Linked DNA regions of Homo sapiens: all the other regions are linked to region 3. Evidence: promoter capture Hi-C in 16 types of primary human blood cells and fetal thymus (Javierre and others, 2016). All regions are on one chromosome and are shown on one strand. The core of a region is centred on a gene start or on the middle of the fragment in contact, and the rest is flanking DNA. Distances in the headings are between cores, read along the strand shown. Region 1 overlaps SLC6A17 (solute carrier family 6 member 17). Region 2 overlaps SLC6A17 (solute carrier family 6 member 17). Region 3 holds the start of PROK1 (prokineticin 1). Region 4 has its middle 10 kb from the start of SLC6A17.

The links. Contacts are between HindIII fragments. The CHiCAGO score rates a contact against its expected background, and 5 or more counts as called.
Region 1: a contact is called between a fragment that was not itself captured here and the fragment with the promoter of PROK1 in region 3, in 17 of 17 cell types (naive CD8 T cells, neutrophils, naive CD4 T cells and 14 more). The highest score is 15.2, in naive CD8 T cells.
Region 2: a fragment that was not itself captured here is called in contact with the fragment with the promoter of PROK1 in region 3 in 1 of 17 cell types (naive CD4 T cells); the score reaches 5.0 in naive CD4 T cells.
Region 4: a fragment that was not itself captured here is called in contact with the fragment with the promoter of PROK1 in region 3 in 3 of 17 cell types (total B cells, endothelial precursors and naive CD4 T cells); the score reaches 6.3 in total B cells.

What each region holds. Positions count from the first base shown.
Region 1 is chr1:110,188,224-110,191,567 of GRCh38, reverse strand. The region is part of intron 6 of SLC6A17 (solute carrier family 6 member 17); the gene reads right to left. Among named protein-coding and RNA genes, the nearest start is that of KCNC4-DT, 20 kb to the left of the region's middle. The HindIII fragment of the contact is 2,962 bases long and covers 394-3,344 here.
Region 2 is chr1:110,160,451-110,163,698 of GRCh38, reverse strand. All of the region lies in intron 1 of SLC6A17 (solute carrier family 6 member 17), which reads right to left. Among named protein-coding and RNA genes, the nearest start is that of SLC6A17-AS1, 6.8 kb to the left of the region's middle. The HindIII fragment of the contact is 4,374 bases long and covers 1-3,248 here.
Region 3 is chr1:110,449,230-110,452,801 of GRCh38, reverse strand. PROK1 (prokineticin 1) reads right to left here and starts at 1,653. Exons shown (of 3, transcript NM_032414.3): 1 at 1,514-1,653. The coding sequence starts at 1,585. The HindIII fragment of the contact is 11,265 bases long and covers 1,074-3,572 here.
Region 4 is chr1:110,138,591-110,141,706 of GRCh38, reverse strand. No RefSeq gene overlaps it. Among named protein-coding and RNA genes, the nearest start is that of SLC6A17, 10 kb to the left of the region's middle. The HindIII fragment of the contact is 152 bases long and covers 1,243-1,394 here.

The DNA.
Region 1 (3,344 bases), core at 625-3,124, 260 kb after region 3:
GAACAGCTTGCACAGCAGCACAAGAAAACTGAGAATACCAGAATCTCCCTGACGCCTTCTCCACCTCAAACTCCTCTACCTCATGAAAGGAAAAAAAACCCAAACCGCCTGCTTTTCCCCACCATCACCCAACCTGAAGCACAGAACCTAGACAATTCCTGGAGAAAGGGCCTCCGCCTAAGCTTCCATCTGCCCTCACACCTGACAGGAGCCCGAACTGCAACAGCATTGGGATGGCATGGAGCAATTTCCAAAGCCCCTTTCCAACCTATTTTCCTTTTATTGTTTGTTCCTTGGGGCAGGGACCAAGCCTTGGACCCAGCACAGAGCTTTAGAGTCTCAGACAGATCCAGATCCAAATCCTGACTCCCATCTTTAAATGGCTATGAAGCTTTTGGTAAGTGGCACTGACTGTGTTATGAGCTTCAGATTACTCATCTGAAGAAAAGGGAATAGTAATAGAGTCTCGGAGTGAACGTGAGGATCAAATGTATAGCAACAAGTAATGCCTGTACGTAGTGGCACTCAATCCCAACAGAATGAGGCTGACCTCGTCAGGACAGGGTGTTTTGTGTTTTGCGGGGGTGCAGGAAGCAAGGATTACTATTCATGTTTTTAAAGGGTAAACTGAGACCCCAAAGATGAAATGACTTGCTCAAGGTAATGGAGCTGGTTAGTCGGGGCAGAGTGATAACTAAAATATAGATATTCTGGGCCAGGCCCCCGCCCCCGGCCCCAGCACCAACTCCTGACTCAGTTTTTCTATCACCTATACTCTTTAAAGCATTTTCCCCTGTGACCTTTGCTGCTGAGGTGAACCTAAGTGACCTCACTCCAGACAGACTAAGGAGGCAAGGAGCCAATTCAGAGAGTTCACTTCCCTGTGGTGACAAGCCCTGTGTGGGTCCTGGCCCGGCTGCCCCTTCTGAGTACCTGTGGGTAAGTCCTCACCTGAACAGTGAGGTGTTGGACTCTAGGGTCCGTCTGGACTTTAGCTGTCTTTAATATCACAGCCCTAAATAACATCCAGGACACAGGGCCCACCTGCCATCATCTCAGCAGCTTCCTAGGCATGTCTCAACTCCTGGCAGCACTCCAACAGCTGAGATGTTGGCAAGCTCAGAGCGCTGGCAGAGCAGTGAGGCTGAGGGCGGCACCCCCATGCTGAGGGGAAAGAGGTGGGGGATGGTAGTCGAGCCTTTGAGCTTCAGGGCCTGGGCACAAATGGAGACCCAGGAGGACTGCCTGGTCAGACAGCATGTGTACTCCAGGGGAGATTAAGGTCCCCCATCCAGCACAAAATAAGTAAAACCATCTTTAGTCCACCAAGAAAGCCCAGAACCCAGGCCTTAAGGATCTAAGGGCCCCTTGGCATCTATGAGGAGACCCTCTCCCCAGCCCACCCCTGTGTACTTATTAGGTATAAGGTGTCAAGGCCTCCCTGTGGCAATGACATGTAGCCACTCATCCATCAATCTCTGAGCACCTGCTGTGGGCCAGGCCTGGTGCTAGGCGATGCAGAGGCCATGGGGAATAGAAGCAATCAGGCTCTCCAAGTTTACATTCTAGTTGGAGAGAGACACATTGGTCAAATGATCCCACGAACAAATGCTAAATTGCAAATGTGACAAGGGCTGTGAAGGCTGGGCACCCAGTGCTTGGAGAGCCCATAAGAAGGGGATCTGAACAAGTTGGGAGGCCAGGCAAGGCTTCCCAGAAGAAGGGGTCCTCAAGCTGACATTTGAAAGCTGATGAAAGCGAGGCCACAAGGGGAGGGAAGAACATTCGGGAAGAAGCATGGACAGAGGTCCTGAGATAGGACAGAGGATGGTGTGTAAAAGGGAATGGAAGGTGCCAGGGTGGCTGAAGCAGTGAGGACGAGGTGGGGGTGGCACAGGTAGGGCTGGGAGAGGAGAGAAGTTAGATCAAAGGCCTGTACAGATCCTGTCTTCACCCTAAGAAAGCACCTAACCCAAGAAGCCACCGAGGGGTTTAAAGAAGTGGGGACACAATCATGTGCATTTCCAAAAGAAATAAGTGGATTCAGCAGACCTTCGAGGAAGCGGCTTCTGGGGTCCAGGCTGGAGGGGACAGTGGCTTTGCTAAGGGGCTGGGTGGTGCCAATGGAGAGATCTTCGCAGGACAAACCAAGGAGACCTTCGGGATGGACTGGAGATGGGAGATGCTGGAGAGGGAGAGGCCGAGGTGAGGGCCATGTCTCTGGCCTGCATACCTGAGCAGGTGGAGATGGGGACAGTGGGAGAGGAACAGGTTGATGGTGTTGGGCAGGGAGGATCAGGACATTAGTTCTACAAAGGTTGAGCTGAATGTGTCTTTAAGACATCTAAAATGAAATGCCAAGTGGTCCGCTGGACAGATGAGCCTGGAGCCAGAGAGAGACAAGCTGGAGATAGACTTTCTGAGTAGCAGGTGTGCTGGCAGGAGCTGAGGCTGTGGCTGTAGTTACAGAGGGATAAGAAGCAAAAGCCTGCTCCTATCTCCAACACTGAATGCAGGGAAGAGGGAGAGTCTCCTGAAAGGGAGTCAGAGAAGGAGAAGCAGCAGAGGCAAGAGGAAAACCCAGAGCCTGGAGGAGGAAGGGTCAGTGCTGCCAGTGAAAGACCCTGAGGGAGTCCACGCAGGAGGCCACAGGGGGCTTCAGAGGCTTCCTCGGAGTTGCTCCCTGGCAAGAAGCCAGGGGAAGTGAAGAAAAGAGAGAGGCAGAGGGGAGGAAATGGAGGCAATGTGGGTAAGCAGGTCCTCGGAGAAGCAAGCCTCGGATCAGGAGAAGGGCAGTATCCGGAGAAGGCTATGAAATCAACAAAGGGTTGCATTTTTATATGTTGTCTTGATTTCTTTTTTGTTTTTGTTTTCAATGGAGTGTCTTGAAAAGCTGGAGGGTAGGGATCGGGATGGGGTGGGAAGCTGTCCTCCATAGGACCACCCTTGGGCTGCTCATTTGAGAGAGGAGGGAGGGAGGACAGGATGGGGCAGCTGCAGGCAGGTTTTATGGTCGGTTTCTGTCTCTGTCATCTGAGGGAGTTTCTTGGCAGCTTCTGTTTTCCCTGTAAAGCAGGAGGCAAAATCATCTGCTGGGGATGAGTATGCCGGAAGGAAGGTCAGAGGGTGTGAAGGATTGGAAGGGTTTAAAATAGCCACAGCGGAGCATGGGAGAGCCAGGTGACCAGAGAAACAGGGCAGGGCTGTCCTGTACTGCTGGGGGCCCACCCCCTTGCATAGGCGGATGTCTGGTTTTTAAAGTAAGATGAAATGTTACCTTCTTTACAAATGTAATACAGGCCCACGGTTCCTTATCTAAAAGCCCTGGGGGCTGACTGGTTTTG
Region 2 (3,248 bases), core at 189-2,688, 290 kb after region 3:
TGCTGTGTGTGAGGACTGGGGCAGGTGCTCTGAGGGAGGTGGGCAGCCCTGGGGCCTTGGCCACACACTAGCTGTGTGCTCTTGGACAAGGCACTTTAATTATGTGAGCGTCTGTCTCCTCATGGGTGAAAAGGTTGCATTTAATGATGGCTCCCATCTCCCAGGGAGGGCTGCTGTGAGGGTCCAATGAGCAGCCGCACACAGAGTGCCTGACATAGAGCTTGGCACACAGAAAGGACCCAAATGGTAGCAGCCACTGCCTGGAAGCCTTGCATTGTTTACCTTTATGCATTTAAAAAATATGTAAGTCCCCATATTGATATTTGGTCCCATCAATCCCATTTCTTCTCAAGAAAGGCCAAGGAGAGCTGACCATGGGAGTGGAGGTGGGTGGAGAGAAGCATCCTGCACCACCTCAGCAATGCCCACTTTCTTCTCCAGAACTGGTGTCCACCTAGGGCACCCCCTAGAAAGTCCTACCATGCACCACACCCCAGTGTCAAAGGAAGCCAGGCAAAGGTCCCGCAGCTACCAGCTTGGACCCAAAAGACCAGCAATATTATTATTAATAAAAACACGGCCTGTATTAAAAGTTTAGCATTATTGTTATTAAAATGTACCTCATGTTTGGAATAGCTTGAGACCGCTTAAAACCATTTTTTTTTTTTTTTTTTTTTTTTACCAACATGGGTTGGTGATCCTGCTCAGGAGTAAGATGGCCTGGGTTCCAACCCCAGCTCACTGCTTGCCAGCCACCTGGCCTGGGCAACTTTTCTAGCCTCTCTGAGCTTCAGTTTCCTCATGTGTCAAGGGAGGGTGCCAGCGGTGCCCACCTCACCATACTGTGAGGAGGATACATTGTACTGGTCTTAGAACCATGCCGGCACCCAAGAAGTGCTCATGAATGGTACCTCTTCTTCAGCTCTCATTCAATTCATACCCCAGTGGAAATAGTGACTTGGAATAACCCTCCCTGCTCCACCCCCAGTTCCCTGAAGCCATGTGCTGGTGAAAGGTGAGCTTTTAGAGCAGGCAGGGCCTGGGAATCCAAAGTGTACCCAGCCAATGACCCCAAAGCCTTGTCTGGGAGAAGCATCAGGATCAGAGAAGGACCCTGAGAGGGGCGATTCCTCTCTTCCCGTACCCATGTATCTCATGGAACCAGCCATAATCCAGGCATCAGCAGGCCAGCTAGGTGCTGGGCCTGACCAACCTACCGTGCAAACTGGTACTATTGCCCTAACTTCTCCGGATCTCAGTTTTCCTGTGTGTAAAATGGGTTGGCATGGATGGCCTCCAAGACCCCCTTCAGCTCTAGCATATATCTGTTGAGAGTCCCTCCTGCTTATGGGTGTGAGCAAGAAGCCACCTGCCCCAGGCACCTGTAACAATGGATGCGAAAGGTAAGTTCTGTCTGCCCTGCCACCCTCCATCAGCTGAGAGCCCACTGGAGCATGGTAGAGATGTGGTGACAGCCAGCCCAGCCGTATTCTAATTATCCCCCCCTTAGTAGCTGGGGTGGGTTGTGAAGTGGCTTTCACGAGCAACACGTCGGATGATGAAGCTGCAAGGTACTCTCTGAAAGGAGTGCCTCCATCCCTGAAAGCACAGCGCAGAGGGGCACGAGTGCCGAGAAGGCCCTTGGTGCCAGCTTGTCACTTAGCAACAGAGGTGGCTTGCAGCTCAGAATAGCTCCTGTGAGAGAAGGAGGTCGGAGCAAGTGAACTGCGAATCTTCTTGAAAGGAGAAAAAATAGTGTGACTGGGAGGCAGACAGGTAAAAATATCTCCTGCCAGAGGGGTGAGGGCTCCACGAAAATTTTTCAAGCACAGCATCCGGCAATAAGCTCAAGGTGGTGGGGGATGGCTGCTCTCACCCTGGCACCAGGACAAAGCCTGGAGCCCCTCCACCCCACAGCAGCCGGGGAGGAGGAGAAGGGAAGAGGGGCACTTTTGTAATGATGAAGGCAGCTCCCTGAGCACCCACCTCCTGGGCCTGGGGTGTTTCTTGCTGGGGAAGGTTCAGGTAACTCAAGGGACAAAGAGAATCATTTATTTTCCAAGTTAGACTCCCCAGGGGAGGTGAGTGGGGGAGCCACCATCTTTGGGGAAGCAGGCAGTCACCTAATTACAACGACCACAGACACCACAGTGCCTACCCTGCCCCGCCCCTCCCCGTGCTCCTGATCCTGCTACCCTTGGGTCTTGTGGCTCTGGAAAGAGTGGCTGTGGCCAAGCACATCCTTAAAAAGCACCTCTTCAGGGTGTTCCAACAGGCACCCTGAAGAGCCCCCAAGAAGAGGAAATCAGTGGAAGTGGTCCCCACTCAGGACCTCAAAGCCAACATCTAACTCAGGTATAATTGGTGGTGAGTAGAAACCAAGTCAGAGGATGCTTGGCAGCTTCCTGATTTCTTCATGACAGGCAGCTGTGGCCCAAACTGTTCTCCTAATTACCTCAGAGCCCCTGAGCTTTTACTGAGCCCAAAACAGGCCGGACTATTATCAGAGACACAAATTATTTTTAATTGTTTTATTAAAACCTCTGACAGTCACCTGGGGCAAACTGCTCCTGACAGGGCCTGGCCTTGACTTGGAGGCTGCTGCCCCTGGATGCTGCTGGCCCAGGACACAGGCAGGGACCCCACACCCTTCTTGACCTCTCTTGCCTCCACCCCCACCAGGTGTTGCAAGTCCTGTAGGCGTGCTCAGCTCTGTCCTCTTCCCACCCCTCTGCTCTAGTTCAAGCCTGCTCTCTGGCTAGATGCCTACAGCAGGCTCCCAGCTCACTTTCCCCGCTGGCATCCTACACATTGCCTTCAGTGGCATCTTCTAGAAATGCCACGCCACCCCACTCCCACTGCCTACTGAAGGGAGCCCAAGGCCCTTTCCCAGGCATTTGGGCCCCCTCTATCTCCCGGGCCTCGGCTTCCACTTCCTCCCAGCCCACTCACCACTCACTCTAGACTAACCACTTCCCATCCCCTGACAGCTGAAGCCTTCTAGGTCCCCTGCCTCGCCTCTATGACAACTCCTGCGAGTCTGTGAGTGAGCATTAACGCTCTGCCCTTCTCAGCACACTCCTTGTAACACCCTTTTACACTATTTTACTATTTGGCTGTCTGGTACAACTAGTTGTCGTTACGCCTGATCCCTTTTCTGAACAGCAATCTCCTTGAGGCAGGAGCGAAGGTGCATTCAGCTTTGTGCCCACCCTTCACTGCTTCCTACCCAACCAGTGCTTCGCACA
Region 3 (3,572 bases), core at 404-2,903:
ACAGTCCAGGGAGCAGGGGAGTGTAGAGGTGGTGGAGCCTGGGCTCCTGCTGAAAATCAGAAGTGGGACACCAGCAGGACATGGAGGATGTGGGGAGCCTGGGGGTTCCTGACTTCCCCTTACTGCCCTGTTCTCACCACTCACCTGTCTTTCCTGGGTTTCCCTCACCTAGGGAAAAGTGCTCTCTATTGTGCTTTTCACCGTGAAAATGTTTGCCTGCCGCTCTCAGATCTGCCTGCCCTGCTGTCACTCTGGGCCAGTGCTGGAGCTGGCACGGGTGGTGAGGCAAGCCTGGCATCCAGGCCAACCACGCTGCTCCTGCCCTCACCGCGCAGCAGCCGGGGCTTCTCTCCATTGTTCTTGCCCTCCCAGATTTTCAAGCTACCCCATAGAAGGGCAGCCTACAGTGTAAACACTTCATTAGGTATAATTCTGCCTTCACAATTATTTTTATTTTTGCTTTGGATCTCAAAAGCATTTGACTCGCCTTTAATATTTGTTCTTTTGAACTCAGTGTTTTTCCTTTAAAAGAGAAAAGAAAGAATTTGTCCTTTCTGTGAATGGTAAAATTAACCCAATTCCAGGAATTGTTTGGCATTTCTCTACATTTCCACTATCCATGTAAAAAGCTGGTGGAGGCTGAACTAAAAGTTAGTTTCCCTGCTTCCCCGACCTTTTTCTTCCAGTGGATTTTATATGGAAAGCTCTCAGGTACAGCATTGCTTTCTGCTTCAGTAAGAATGGTCCTGCTACCATAACACATCATGTGCCCCTATTTGAAGGTGGTTTGAGGTAAAAGCAAACTTCCGAGAGAAAACCATGATCTGAATATTTTGAACCAATTGTACAGTGCCCATATGCTGAACCTTTGCTTCTCTGCTTCGAGACTGGATATCTACTTGTTATCTGGATGCTTGCTTTGGGGTACACTCAGCTGAATGTTAGTGGCACCCATATTCCTCTCAGAACTAACTAGGCAGGCACAGAGTGAAAGAGTTTCAAAGATATCCTTTCTAAGCGGAGGTTAAGTTTATACAATAGAAGTTTATAAGCTTACCACCTTTAATTAAGCTTACTGCCTTTAATTAAGTCAACATGCTATGTAAATTAATATTAATATTAATATGTGAATCAGACCATAAATAAAAATTAAAATTCACACAAAAGATAAGTTAAGGTTTGCCAATCCACTTTATAAAGGAATTCCTTATTACTTAATAGGAATCTTCACTTTACCAAAGGACTGAACTTCAAAATGTTCAATGCTCTGCTAACACATTGAAAACAGGATTTGATTCATACACAGCTTCTCAAAAGCAGATCCCATTTAGTAGAGTGAGGTCTAACTAGTCTGAAAATCGCATGCAATCCCTTTAATGCATAATTCCCCATTCCCTTTGGTTCACACTGTGTTGAGCCAACAGAGCCTCCTGCATGGTTCCTGGGCTCACAACCCGTGCAGACCCTGACATCTTCCCAAAACCCAAGGCACAGAGAATGTTAGGCGACTTACCCCTGTGATCACAGCACAGTCAGACACAGTTACTAGGAGGAGCATGATTGAGACTCGCGTGGCACCTCTCATGGTCACTTGGGGTGAAGGCAAAACACTGCCTGCTTAGATGCCTCTCGCTTCCTCCCGCTCAGCCTTGTGCCTGGCAAGCTGGGGAGGCCAGGCTCTCCTGCATCCCCCGCCTCCTCCCAGATGTTTACACTCAGGATCCAGGGCTGCCTGTGGATGCCTCATCTCTGCTCTTCCCTTCTCCAACACCGATGTTACTCAGATGATCTCAGAAGCGAAGATGAGACCTGAATCTCTAACAACATCAAATCAACATCAAAACCAATAAAAATGGATACTTGGGGGGCTTTGACGGTTGCTCTAACTCTCCCAAGAACGCAGTGATTCAGACAGTTATGTATATTTCACTCAATGTTCTTTTCTGCCTCTGGGTATCCTTCTATCCTACTTGGGGCAGAGGAAAGCCTCTGGTAATGAATTAAGGGATTTGCAACATCACCATTTATGCTTCCCTGCACCAAACTATGCAACATACAAGATTATTGGTTCCCTCTCACTCACACCAAGACTTATCTAGGCATTTACCATGGGCTCAACACAGAGGTAGCTGAGAAGACAGAAGAGGGTGAGGTGGTATCCTTATTTCTCTAAAAGGTTAAAATTATAGTGAGGAGCCATAAGACAGTGAGGAAAAAAAGACCAGACTTGTGGGGCTGATGTTCCTAAGTGACACACACATAAGGATTTGCTCTCTCATGGGCTCAGGATGAACACCAGCAAGTGTCCCTTGGTACAATGACCCAAGGGCAGAAAGCCAGCAAACATACAGGGCACACACTCTCTCAGTACCCTGCAGAGCCGAGCTGGTATGGGCTGTGGCTGAAAGGTACCAGAGCCACACCACTGGCCTTCCAGTTTTAGGGGTGAGCATGAGAGTGGCCTTATCCGTGAGTGTATAAACACGGTGGTCTCAGATGCCAGTCTGGTGGGAAGTTGACTTTCGGGATGGCCCCTCCGCCTGTGAGGGAAGCCCCTGACCCCAGCCCTCTCTGTGTCATACGACCCAGAGAGAGCTCCCAGTGCTTTGTCAGATGATCTGCCTTCTCTCCACAGTAATAAAAGCCAACATTTCCCAAGGTATGTGTTGCAATATGTTAATACACAAATAAACAAATAAAAGACTTCTACAGTCAAAAATTTGGGAAACACAAACCGGCTTGTTTTTTGCAGAACTTTTCAGGGCCTTTCATATGCTAATAAGTGTTTGAAACACCAAGTGGGAAATGCAGTTTGTAGTATTTCACAAGCAGATTCATCCACAAAACCTTTCTTATCAAATGTCACAGGGGTCTAGGGTTTCCACATTGAAACGCTGATAGGCATTTATGAGTGCAGAGAGGAAGGTTAACTAGCACGGGAGCTGGGAGCTAAGCCCCCAGAGGCAGATGCTTTGATTCAGATCGATGGCTTCATGACCTTGAAAATATTGCTAATCTCTCCAAGCCTCAGTTTTCCTATCTATAACATGGGATAAGAATAGCATTTACATCATACGATTTTGCGAGTATTCATCTATTTATTTATTCATTGACTATATTTATTGAGAGCCTACTGTATAGAAGACACTGTTCTTGGCACTGGGAATATAGCAGTGAACAAAACAAAACCCTGTCCTCATGTAATTTTGACTATAGTCAAGGAGACGGGTAATAGACAAATAAACAGATTTGTAATAAAATGGCCAGTTGTGTTGAGCACTGTTAAAAAGGAAGGCCAGGCGCAGTGGCTCATGCTTGTAATCCCAGCACTTAGAAGGTAGAGGCAGGCGGATCACTTGAGGTCAGGAGTTCGAGACCAGCCTGGTCAACATGGTGAAACCCCATCTCTAGTAAAAATATAAAAATTAGCCAGCTGTGGTGGCTCACGCCTGTAATCCCAGCTACTCGGGAGGCTGAGGCAAGAGAATCACTTGAACCTGGGAGGCAGAGGTTGCAGTGAGCCGAGATCGCGCCACTGCACTCCAGCCTGGGCAACAAAACGAGACTCCATC
Region 4 (3,116 bases), core at 69-2,568, 310 kb after region 3:
GCTTCACTTTACAAAAAGATTCCCCTCTCTTTCTTTTCCTCAAGACAATGTGATGTATATAGTCAGAAAAACTCAGGTTCTGACCCAAGCACTACCTTGACAGATGACTTTTTTTTTTTTCTTGAGACAGAGTCTCACTCTGCGTCCAGGCAGTGCAGGGGCGCAATCTCAGCTCACTGCAACCTCCACTTCCCACATTCAAACAATCCTCCCACCTCAGCCTCCCAAGAAGCTGGAACCACAGGTGCACACCACCACATCCAGCTGATTTTTTTGTATTTTTTGTAGAGATGGGGTTTTGCCATGTTGCCCAGGCTGGTCTCAAACACCTGGAATCAAGCAATCCGCCTACCTTGGCCTCCTAAAGTGCTGGGATTACAGGCGTAAGCCACTCCATGTCTGGCCTAACAGGTGACTTTTGACATATCACTATGTCAAAAGAATGTGACCTTCAGAATCTTTATTTGGAAAATGGAAGTAAAATCTGTCCTCTAACCTCATGGGGGTCATTGTAAAGATTAAATGAGATGAAACTCTGTACAGTCAAGGCAATATTATCACTGTTGCTATTAGCGATAGCTCAGAAGATGTGCCAGGCACTACTCTAAGCAACTTACCTTTATTAGCTCATCGAATCCTTAAATAGCCATTTACCCTGGGGGTTTTAAATATAATGTGCATTCTTCCCTTAAAGGCTGAAAGCCTCATTTAAAAAATAATTTACAACTGGCTGGGCGCGATGGCTAACACCTATAATCCCAGCACTTTGGGAGGCCGAGGTGGGCGTATCACCTGAGGTCAGGAGTTCAAGATCAATCTGGCCAACATGGTGAATCCCCGTTTCTACTAAAAACACAAAAATTAGCCAGGTGTGGTGGTGCGGTCTGTAATCCCAGCTACTCGGGAGGCTGAGGTATGAGAATCGCTTGAACCCGAGAGGTAGAGCTGCAGTGAGCCAAGATCACGCCACTGCACTCCAGCCTGGGCTAGAGTAAGGCTCCGTCTCAAAAAATAAAAATAAAAATAAAAAATAATTTACAACTAAAAAACTTATACAAGATAATTCAGTAACATGGTTGGATACAAAATTAACCTATTAAATATCTACACCTTCAGATATACAACAGCCAGTAGTAAGAAGATATAAAAAATGGTTCAGTTACAATAGCAACAACAACAAAAAAGAAAAATACTTAGGAATAAACTTTAAAAGGTTTCTAGAAAGTCTATGTGAAGAAAGCTTCCGAATGCTACTCAGAGATCCAAAAGAAGGTGTGAACATAGGAAAAGAAATTATATGTCCTCAGAGTGGGAGACAAAACAGAAGAAACATGTTAATTCTCTCTGAATTAATCCATAATTCTAAAATGACCCCAGTGAAAATAACAAAAGCTTTTCTTCTTTTTAACTAAACAAGCTAGTTAAACTAACACTCATATAGAAAAAGAAACAAAGAAAAAGCAGTGGAATTAGGAAAGGGAGAATTAGTGGGTGTCAGGTGAGGAATTAGCCTACCAGAGGGTGAAACACATTACAAAGCTGCAAGTTTAAATTAGTGTGGACTCAGAGATGGCACCACTGCACTCCAACCTGGGTGACAGAGTGAGACCCCGTCTCAGAAATAAATAAATAAGTAAATAAAAATAAATTAATGTGGACTTAGTTATGAGAAATACATGAGGCAGAACACACAGTCCAGAAGTAAACTCAGATACAGTCATTTAGAACATGATAAAGGTTATATTTTAAATGAGCAGAAGATGGATTTTTAATCAATGATATTGATTTGGTCATTTGAAAAGAGTAAGTCTGACTCCTTACCTTACTCTTCATACCAAAATAAATTGTAGATGTATCAATATTGATAAAAGAAAAAAATTAAGCCACAGGGATGCATCAAAAGCAGTATATAGAGGGATATTTATAGCTTTAAATAGATAGAAAAGAAGAAACGTTGAAATCAATGAACCAAGCAACCATCTCAAAAATGCAGGGAAAGAACTACAAAATAGACCCAAAGGAAATAGAAGGAGGGAATGTAGAAAATAATCAAATAGGAAAGCAAACATACAATAGAAAGGATTACCAAAGTCAGAAGTTTGTTCTTTGCAAAAGGGGATACCAGAGGCTGGGAAGGGTAGAGAGAAGGGAGGGATAGGAGCTAGATAGGAGAAATAAGCTCTAGTGTCTATAGCACTACAGTTACAGCTACAGTTAACAATAATATATTATATGATTTCAAATAGCTATAAGAAAGATATTGAATGTTCCCAATACAAAGAAATAATAAGTGTTTGAGATCATGGATATGCTAATTACTCTGATCTGATCACTATACATTATATGTATTACAACATCACTATGTACCTCATAAATATGTACAATTGTGTCAAAAAAGTTTGTTTTTTGCAAAGTCCAATTATTCTTTTAAAAATCATAAAAATACTATGGAAAAAGAAAACACAGAAAAAATTGTTATCATGTTGGGTGAAATGGGTGGTGAGACCTCTCTAAATATGACATCATCACTGGTTTTCCCTTTGCCTCATCCTGCTTTATTGCTCTTGAAATCACGTATCACCATCTGGCATTCCACTCACTTTCCTGTTCATTTGTTTGAAGATGAAAGCAAACTAGATGAAAGCCGTATCACCAGCGCCTAGAACAGTCCTGACACATAGTAGGTGTTCAGAAATATTCATTGAGTGATTGTTAAAGAAGGGGGACAGGTTTCTTTGATGAGCAAAAACCTCCTGAAAATCAGTAAGAAAAAGATAGAAAAGGATATGAATAGAAATCTCATAGAAAATGAAATATAAAGGCCCTTGCACATGTAAAAAGATGTTTAATTTCATTCATAATCAGAGAAACGCAAATTGAAAAATAATGAGATTCCATTTTACCTATTATATTGGCAAATAACTAAAACAAATGACAAAAAGTTAATAACACACATGTTCCTAATGAGAGAAGAGTTAAATTATACAATCTCTGTGGAAGATAATTAGGCCATATTTATTAAAATTATAAAGGCACATACCCATTGACAATTTGGCCATATCTATCAAGATTATGAAGTCACATACTCATTTTGCACATGTGTTTGTTTAAAGAGA